Linked DNA regions of Homo sapiens: region 2 is linked to region 1. The links are contacts of gene promoters, found by promoter capture Hi-C in blood cells and fetal thymus (Javierre and others, 2016). All regions are on one chromosome and are shown on one strand. Each heading gives the region's core, a stretch centred on a gene start or on the middle of the fragment in contact. The rest is flanking DNA. Distances are from core to core; before and after follow the strand shown. Region 1 holds the start of LY6D (lymphocyte antigen 6 family member D). Region 2 holds the start of TOP1MT (DNA topoisomerase I mitochondrial).

Region 1 (4,008 bases), core at 227-2,726:
GTCATCAGCATTCCATGCCCACCTGGACCTGGTCCCAGACTTTCGGGGAAGCCCTCAGCCTGGGGCTCCTGGCACCCCCGTTGCGGCTGGGGAAGAGAGGTGTGGAATCCCCAGAGAAAGGGAAGGAAAGGCATGAGGGGCCTTCCCTGGGGGGAAGGTCACAGGCTGGGGGCTAAGATGACGGCCAGGAGGCTCAGGGCCAGCCCCAGGCTGAGGGCACTGTGGGCGAGGGCGGTGCGGGTGGGTGCAGCGTTGTGCAGCTTCTCATTGCACAGGTCCTCCTGGCAGCACTGGGTGGAGCTGGTGCCGCTGCTGACCTGGCCTTGCAGGGTGTAGCTGGGTGTGCACGACTCCGCACAGTCCTTCTTCACCAGATTCCCCCTCAGAGGCTCCACTGGGCACAGGTGAGTGTGGTCAGGCCAGGCAGCCACCTCTGCCCCCCACCTCCCCACAACCTTCCAGCCAACACCCACAACAGCCAGGGATGTCCCCCAGCCCCAGGGACACCTGGACAGATGCTACCCACCTGTGTTCGTGGTCTTGCAGAAGCGAGAGCTGGCCGGGCAGACCACAGAATGCTTGCAGTTGCTGGAGCTGGTGCACACGTGGCAGCGCAGGGTAAGGGCTGGCGGGGAGGGAGTCCGGCTCAGCGGGCCCAACAGAGGCCTCCTGGTGACTCAGCAGGGCCTGCTCCCCCACCTGCAGAGACCCCTCCTGGACAGAGGCCCTGCTGCCCTTGCCCTAGGCCCCCAAACCCGGGCTCTGGGTCCTGGCAGGGCATGTGCCCTGAGTGCAGCCTCAGGGGACATGTATTCCAGCCTGGGCCGGCTTGGAAGAGGTGTCCTGCCCTGCCCCTGTCTAGGGTGTGTTGCAAGCCTTTCCTCCAAGGTCTCAGGGAGCTCTGCGACTGCCAAGAGGACACTGGCTCTTGTCCCCACCCCAGGGGATGTCCCTGGAGGAGATGGCTATGTTTCTGAGGGCCTGACGGAGCTAAGGCCCCGGGGGCAGCCAGCTTGGCTGCTCTGAGCCTATGACAGGAAGGGCTTGGTGGCCTTTGGGCTGTCCTGGGCTGTGCTGGGGGAGACCTGGGGACCGGGAGGGGCTGGTGGCAGGGACTAGATGGCCGCTCTCCCAGTGAGAAGCATCTCAAGACAACCCCCTGCTCCACTCTCTCAGGGTCCGTGACTCCAGGAGTCAGTTCTAAGATCCTCAGATTCTGAAACATTGTAAATCTGACACTCGTTAAGATTCGGGCTCCATGTTGTTTTAAATTTGAAGAGTCTAGCACCCACAGTGTCGGGGTTCTCTGTGCCTAGATGTCGTCAGCTCCAGGCTCCTAGTATTTGGTGACCACACAGGCCACAGCCGCCCACCCGCCCGTCCCCTTGGCCCAGCCCCTCACCTGGCCCTGTAGCCACAGCCAGGGCTGCAAGGAGCAGCAATGCTGTCCTCATCTCTGATGTCGTCTGGGAGCAGTGCGGGCCCCTGCATTGCCAAGGCCTTATAGGCACGGGCTGGGCGGGGGTGGGCAGTCCGCCAGCCAGCGGCATTCTGCAGGGCTCTGTGCAAGCGTCAGCCCAGGACGGGCACCTGCCCCACCCTGCCTGGCCCACGCCCACCAGCCTGGCTGTCGCTGGGCGCTGCCCCTGCTGCCCCCCGCCAGGCAGAGGTCTGCCCTCCGCAACGGGGCCCAGTGGCCTCCTGGCCCTGCTGTTCCTGCTGCTGTGCCTCCATCTCTCCCACTTTCACTTCTCTGTCTCTGTGGGTCTTGTTCTCTCGCTGCCGTCCGTTCCTGGGTCACTTTGTCTCTGACCTGCCACCCGCTACCCCCCGCCCCCCACCCCCCACCATCCATCACCATCCTGTGTCTTTGTCCCTGCATTCCCCCCATAGTTCCCTCAATAGAGTTGCAGCCTGTGCCCGGTGCCCTGTGGGTGCCCGTGGGTGTCCAGGGCAGGGGAGGTAGGAAGGGCAGGTGCTGGTCCTACTCTCCTGGCTCTGGGCTCAGGGTTGCTGCCGGGGATGCAGAAGGTCCTTGAGCTGCAAGGGCTCGGGGTGGCTGTGGGCTGATGGGGTGTGTGAGGCAGAGGCAGAGGCAGAGGCCACTCCGAGGCAGGGAGGGCAGCTGGGGCAGCAGTGAGGTGAGCACTGGACAGAGTGAGGACTGTGAGGACCCGGCCCTCGAAGTTGCCTGGGGAGCCCTGTGGGCAGAAGGCCCGGGCTGTGGAGGCAGCAACTCCACCCTGCGTTGTGCAGGGAGAGACTGAGCCCTCCTGGTCTCCACCAGCCCTGCCTCCCGCCCTCCAGGGCCCCAGAAGCCCTCCCCGTGGGATTCCTTCCCCCACTCTCCAGGCCCCTCCTGCTACGTTGGGGGCAGCGCCATCCCGGCCACTTTGTAACTATTGCTCTAGGTGTCCCGGCTCCAGTCTCCCCAAAATCGTGAACTCTTTGGGGCTGGGCCCCAGCACCCAGGGCCTCAAAGCAGGTTCTTGGTCTGCTGCCCGTTGAGTGGAGGCCAGTCCCCGCCTTCACCCTCTTTATACTCACAGGAGGGACTTTCTTTCCCTGGAGACGGGGTCTCTGAGCACCCACCGCCTCGCGCAGGAGCCCACCTCTTGGGGCCCCCATCCACCTGCTCAGCCCAGCACGCTCTGCCGCTCGCCTGTGCTGGGCAGCACCCACCTGAGTGGTGTGGAGGGGCCCACAGACTTGCTTTGCCCCTGCCCTGGCTAGGCTGAAGGTGAGTGGGAGCCGGGGCACAGATGGAGGTCAGCCCTGGGCCCAGCCTCCTGCCGCCGCTGCCACGTGGCTGATGAACAGACAACAACAGGCCCAGGGCAGGGCAGGGCCGGTTCCGAGGAGGGTGGTCCTGGGCTGGGCTGAGGCTTTTGGGAGCACCGTGGGTACTGGGGCCAGTCAGGCCTGGGCTTGAGACAGACCCTCTGGCCCTTCCTCCCGGCATCTCTCCCTTGCTGAGCCCCACGTCTCAGATGCCGGGGATCCCAGCAAATGTCTCCTGAGAATGCTCCTGGCCGGGCTCTCCCTGACACAGTGCCGGGGCCTGGAGGATCCACCTACAGGAGGGGTTGCCTGGTGGTGCCTTTAGAAACCAGGGTGCAGGCGGGAGCCCCCTGGGGCAGCCCCACATTTGCATCTGGTGCCTGGCCCTGGCTGGAGCTTGGTGGGGACGTGTGTAGTCTCACTTGCCAAGGCAGGTGACCCAAAGGTCCATGCCCCCACCCAGAGAGAGGAGGTTTCCTCCAGCTCCAAGGCCCTGTGTCCATGGGTCACAGTGAGAGGCATGGGCAGCTTGGGGGAAGGTGCTTCCAGGGGCCTTGGGAGGCAGAGCTCAGGGCTTGGTGGCGGGGTGATGACTCGGTGGGCATGGCAGGTGGGGAGGGTGACTCACTGTGGCCAGGGGCATGAGAGCTGCTGGAAAAACAGGTTTGGAATTCCTGCTGGGTCTGGTGGAGCTGGAGGGTCCGGGATGTCAGGTGGCCTGAGAGTGGGTTCTGAGTGTGGGGCCATGGGGGAGTGTGCTCCCCACACCTGGGGCTGGAGGAGGGCCCTGCACACCTGGCTCACCCCCGTGGGACACCTCAGGCATCACTGTGGCTGCGTCCCTGCCAGGCATGGGAGCCGGAGCGGGGTTCCAGTTTTGTGGGATGAGGGCCTCTGACCTGGCAGGGCTGCCCACGAGGATGAGCTGCCCATCCCAGGTGGTCCTAGCAAAAGCATGAACAGCAGCCCTACACAGTTCACTTTCAGGAGAAAGCGGGTGCTTCTGATGCCAGGAGCCCTTGGACAGCTGAGCTTCTGGGGACAGTGCAGTCAGGGAGGGTTTCTTGTAGGCAGTGACCTGACTAGAGCCTCAGAGCCAGGGATTGGAATGTGGAGAGGAGACACTGTGGCCCCTCATGTCAGTCCCTGCCCAGTGCTTGTTCACTGGTGAGGAAGTGAGGGCCAGAGAGCTCCAGGCACGTTCTGGGGCAGAACCTGGTGGGGTCT
Region 2 (4,028 bases), core at 939-3,438, 550 kb after region 1:
GTCACATCACCAGTCTCATTTCACAGATGAAGACACTGAGGTGAAACAACCTGCCGGCCAGCGGCCAGGCAGGGCTGCACCACTGGGTGTGCGCTCAAGCCCAACTGAGGGCTGCACATTGTAGTGACATTCTTTCACCCCTGCAGAGACCAGGGCACCAAGCACCACCATCAGACACAAGCTGGCTTTCAAAGCCAGAGACCTTGCTCCAAACCCACCTGTCCACCTGGGCGACTGCAGCTCAGCAGCACTTTTTGGAAAGCACCTACCTGCCTGTGCACCCTCGGAGAGATGTGCCTCAATGCAGGGCCCACAGCCAGCCCCAGCTCCAAGCGCAGGCCAGAACTCCCTCCTCCCAAGACACCCTGCCCCATCTGGGGCTCTCTTTGGGTCCCAAGCTCCTGCAGGCAGACAGGACATTTCTGCAGCATGGCCTTAGGCAGCTGTGCAGGCCCTCAGCTGTGAATGGGTATGCTGATAGCGCACCACCAGGTCACAGAGACATGCCACGCTGGAAGCACTAAGTGAATGATGATAAACCGCGAGACCTGGCGGGAACTCCTGCAGGATCTCCCACGCACCAGTGAGGCTGTCAACTCTCCAGCTCTTCGGAAACTCCAGCATTTCATGCGCAGAGACCCATCCCCATGCGGCTACCCCAGGCCCAGTATGCGCCGGCAGGGCTTCTCACATGTCCTCCAGGAAAGCGCCTGGGACCACCAACGGCCACCAGGGCCACTGGATCCATGCGGCTTGTGCCTGGTGATGTAGATATGACAGTGAGCGCCCGCCGCCATGCAGAATCGGTCCTGGAGACAACCCGGGAACCGACTCCAGGAAAGAGCGGGTCTCAGAAGACCATGCACAGCAACATAAGCTTTTTATAAAGTACCTAACCAAACCCTACAGTGTTGAGGCCCAGGCACAGCTACACAAATGATGAAACCACAAGCGGAAAAAAAGAGGGGAGATTTCCCCAAATAGGGTTGGTGGGGTGGTGCCTGGGGAAGCAAGGGCGACGTCATGGGGGGGCCTGTACACCCCGGGCAGGAGGCGGGCCGGTCACACCGCGGCACGCATGCTCTCCTGGCCCGACTTTTGGGAAAACCGGAAGCAGGGCAAGGCCGTCCCACGAGGCCTGCCACTCCCCTTTCTGGACCTACCCAAGCCCGGTGCTCAGGGCCCTCGCCGCCTGCTCACTGGGACACCTTACCTGGCTCCACTGCCCTTCTGCGTCCTGCGCGAGCCCGGGACACCCCGGGAGGCCGGGCGGCGGGGGACCTCCCCGAGCAGCGTCAGAGCCGCCCGGAGCCGCAGCAGCCGCACCACGCGCATCTGCCAGCCTCCGGGAAAGAGCGACAAGCTGGGCCCCGCCCCAGCGGCCAGCCCCGCCCCGCCCCCAGCGGCCAGCCCCGCCCCCGAGCGCGGCCTCCGCCCCCAGCGGCGCTCATCCCAAGGCTGGGCGGTCTAAGCCTGCACGGGGCTGCGGCAGCAGGACCACTGACTGTCCTGCCGGCCTCCCCCTGGTTTCCCTGCCTTCGTGGTCCAGCGCCCCTTCACGCTGGGCGGGGACCCAGATCCAAACCCAGTCCCACTGACCTCTGCAGCACAGGGCTGGCTGTCAGGATGCCCCACAGGTCACACGACCAGGCCAGTGAACTCCTGCCCAGGGCTTGCACACAGCTCTCTCCCAGAGCCTCTGAGGGCAGGGGCACCTAGCAGGTCCTTCCTAAGTACACGCTCTGCTGCTCTGGAGAAGGGACCACACAGGCTCAGATGGCCCCCTACCTCATCCCCTACAAACAGCAGCACTTCCAGGACGCAGAAACCGGCAGAAGCACCTGCTGTCCAGCCCACAGCAGCCCCTCAGAGGTGGTGCCTCTGGACAAAGGTCACAGGAAGTCCTGCGAAATCATCCCTGCCAACCAGCCTCTCACTCCCAAGGAGACCAGAGACCAGGCACAGCTGGAGCCTCCTTCCTGCGCTCAGTCCCCAGCGTGACTGCTGACCCTGACCAGGGTTTAACCCCAGTGTCTTCACTGGGGAGCATGGCCAAGGGGCAAAACCTCTAGATCAGCACTTGGCGGTAGGCCCTGAGCCACAACAGGCCACACCGCTCACCTCTGGCAGCACCGCAGCCTTGGTCTTCCCCGGTAAAACCCTGACACCAGGACCGTGGGAAGCAGATGAATTCACATGCATTCCGCACTTTCACTGTGACCGTTGGGGGGAATGCAGTGGACACAGGCAGGAAAGGAGTCCGGGCTGCCACCGCACGCCCTCAGCGACCCTCCCCTGCCACCAACTGACTCAGTGTCCATGTCATCTAGCTGCTGGAAGCCATGGGCAGAGGCCGAGGGCTGCAATTGCTCGCTCTTAGGGCCCAGGCAGACCTGGTAGGTGTCCCATCATTTCAGAATGAGCAGCTCAGCAGCTGAAGGTACACACACACCAGGACACAGCAGCTGACTCTCCAGGTGGGCCACCTCCTCCCAGGGGCTGCGGAACAGTGATGCATATTTTTTCAGGTAACCCTTTCTACAAACCAGAAGAGGGCCTTGGCCCAGGCCCACCATTCCTTCAACGGAATCCTGAGGTCAATGTGTTTTCCAGTTCAGGTTTCTAAGGGTTTTTGATTTTTTGTTTTTTACTTTTTGTAGAGATGGGGTCTCCCTATGTTGCCCCGGCTGGTCTCGAACTCCTGGGCTCAAGTACCTTGGCCTCCCAAAGTGCTGGGATTTCAGGTGTGAGCCGATGCCCAGTTGGTTCCTCAGGTTTTGTAAGAGGGAGTGTGGCAGGACAAAAACCCTAAGATTTCTCAATAGATGCAGAAAAAGCAGCAGACAAATCCAGCACCATTTCATGATAAACAGAATGGAAAACCCACTCAAGAACAGAATAGAAAGAAACTTAACCTGAAAAGCAGCATCTACAAAACCCCGCAGCTAACCTCATATGCCAGAAGAAAGACTGGACGCTCCTGCTGAAATGAAGAATAAGACGAGGATGTCCACTCTCACCACTGCCTCTCAACATGGTACCAGAGGCTCTAACTGAGCAAACAGGCAAGCAGATGAAATAAGACACCCAGATCAGAAAGAAAGAAGTAAATTATGTCTATTTGCAGGTGGCATAATCTTGTATATAGAAAATCCCAAAGAATCCACAAAAATTGGCCGAGCACCGTAGCTCATGCCTGTAATCCAAGCACTTTGGGAGGTCAAAGCAAGTGGATCACTTGAGCCAAGGAGTTCAAGACCAGCCTGGGCAACATAGTGAGACCCTATCTCTATGGAAAATAAAATTTAAAAAAGAATCCACAAAAACTAGTAGAGCTAATAGATGAATTCAGCACAATTGTAGGGTACAAGATCAATATGCAAACATCAGTTGTATTTCTAACCAGTAGCCATACGCAAACTGAAAATGAAATTAAGAAAATAATTTATTATAGCATGAAAAAATAAAATACTGCACAATAAATTTAACAAAGGAAGTATCAAGCTTATACTCTGAAAACTGTAAAACATTGCCCAAAGAAATTAAAGACAGCCTAAATAAATGAGCAGCCATCCCATGTTCACGGACTGGATGATTTCATATGGTTAAGACAGCATTGGCCAGGTGCAGTGGCTCACGCCTGTAATCCCAGCACTTTGGGAGGCCGAGACGGGCGGATCACGAGGTCAGATCGAGACCATCCTGGCTAAAACGTCTCTACTAAAAAAATTAGCCTGGCATGATAGCAGGCGCCTGTAGTCCCAGCTATTTGGGAGGCTGAGGCAGGAGAATGGCGTGAACCCAGGAGGCAGAGCTTGCAGTGAGCCGAGATCACGCTACTACACTCCAGCGTGGGCAACAGAGCAAGACTCCGTCTCAAAAAAAAAGACGGCAATACTCCCCAAACTGATCCAAAAACTCAATACAATCCCCATCTAAATTCCAGCTGGCGTTTTTACAGAAATTGACAACCTGATCCTAAAATTCACAGGGAAATACAAGGGACCCAGAATAGCCAAAACAATGTT

The links. The method cuts DNA at HindIII sites, captures the fragments that hold promoters and counts their contacts. A CHiCAGO score of 5 or more calls a contact.
Region 2: a contact is called between a fragment that was not itself captured here and the fragment with the promoter of LY6D in region 1, in 1 of 17 cell types (non-activated CD4 T cells). The highest score is 5.0, in non-activated CD4 T cells.

What each region holds. Positions count from the first base shown.
Region 1 is chr8:142,785,063-142,789,070 of GRCh38, forward strand. It overlaps LY6D (lymphocyte antigen 6 family member D), which reads right to left and starts at 1,477. Exons shown (of 3, transcript NM_003695.3): 1 at 1,403-1,477; 2 at 527-625; 3 at 1-394. The coding sequence starts at 1,454. The coding sequence ends at 159. The HindIII fragment of the contact is 15,715 bases long and covers 1-4,008 here.
Region 2 is chr8:143,333,527-143,337,554 of GRCh38, forward strand. It overlaps TOP1MT (DNA topoisomerase I mitochondrial), which reads right to left and starts at 1,354. Exons shown (of 14, transcript NM_052963.3): 1 at 1,214-1,354. The coding sequence starts at 1,335. RefSeq lists enhancers at 578-1,262, 802-851 and a silencer at 1,052-1,511. The HindIII fragment of the contact is 2,627 bases long and covers 876-3,502 here.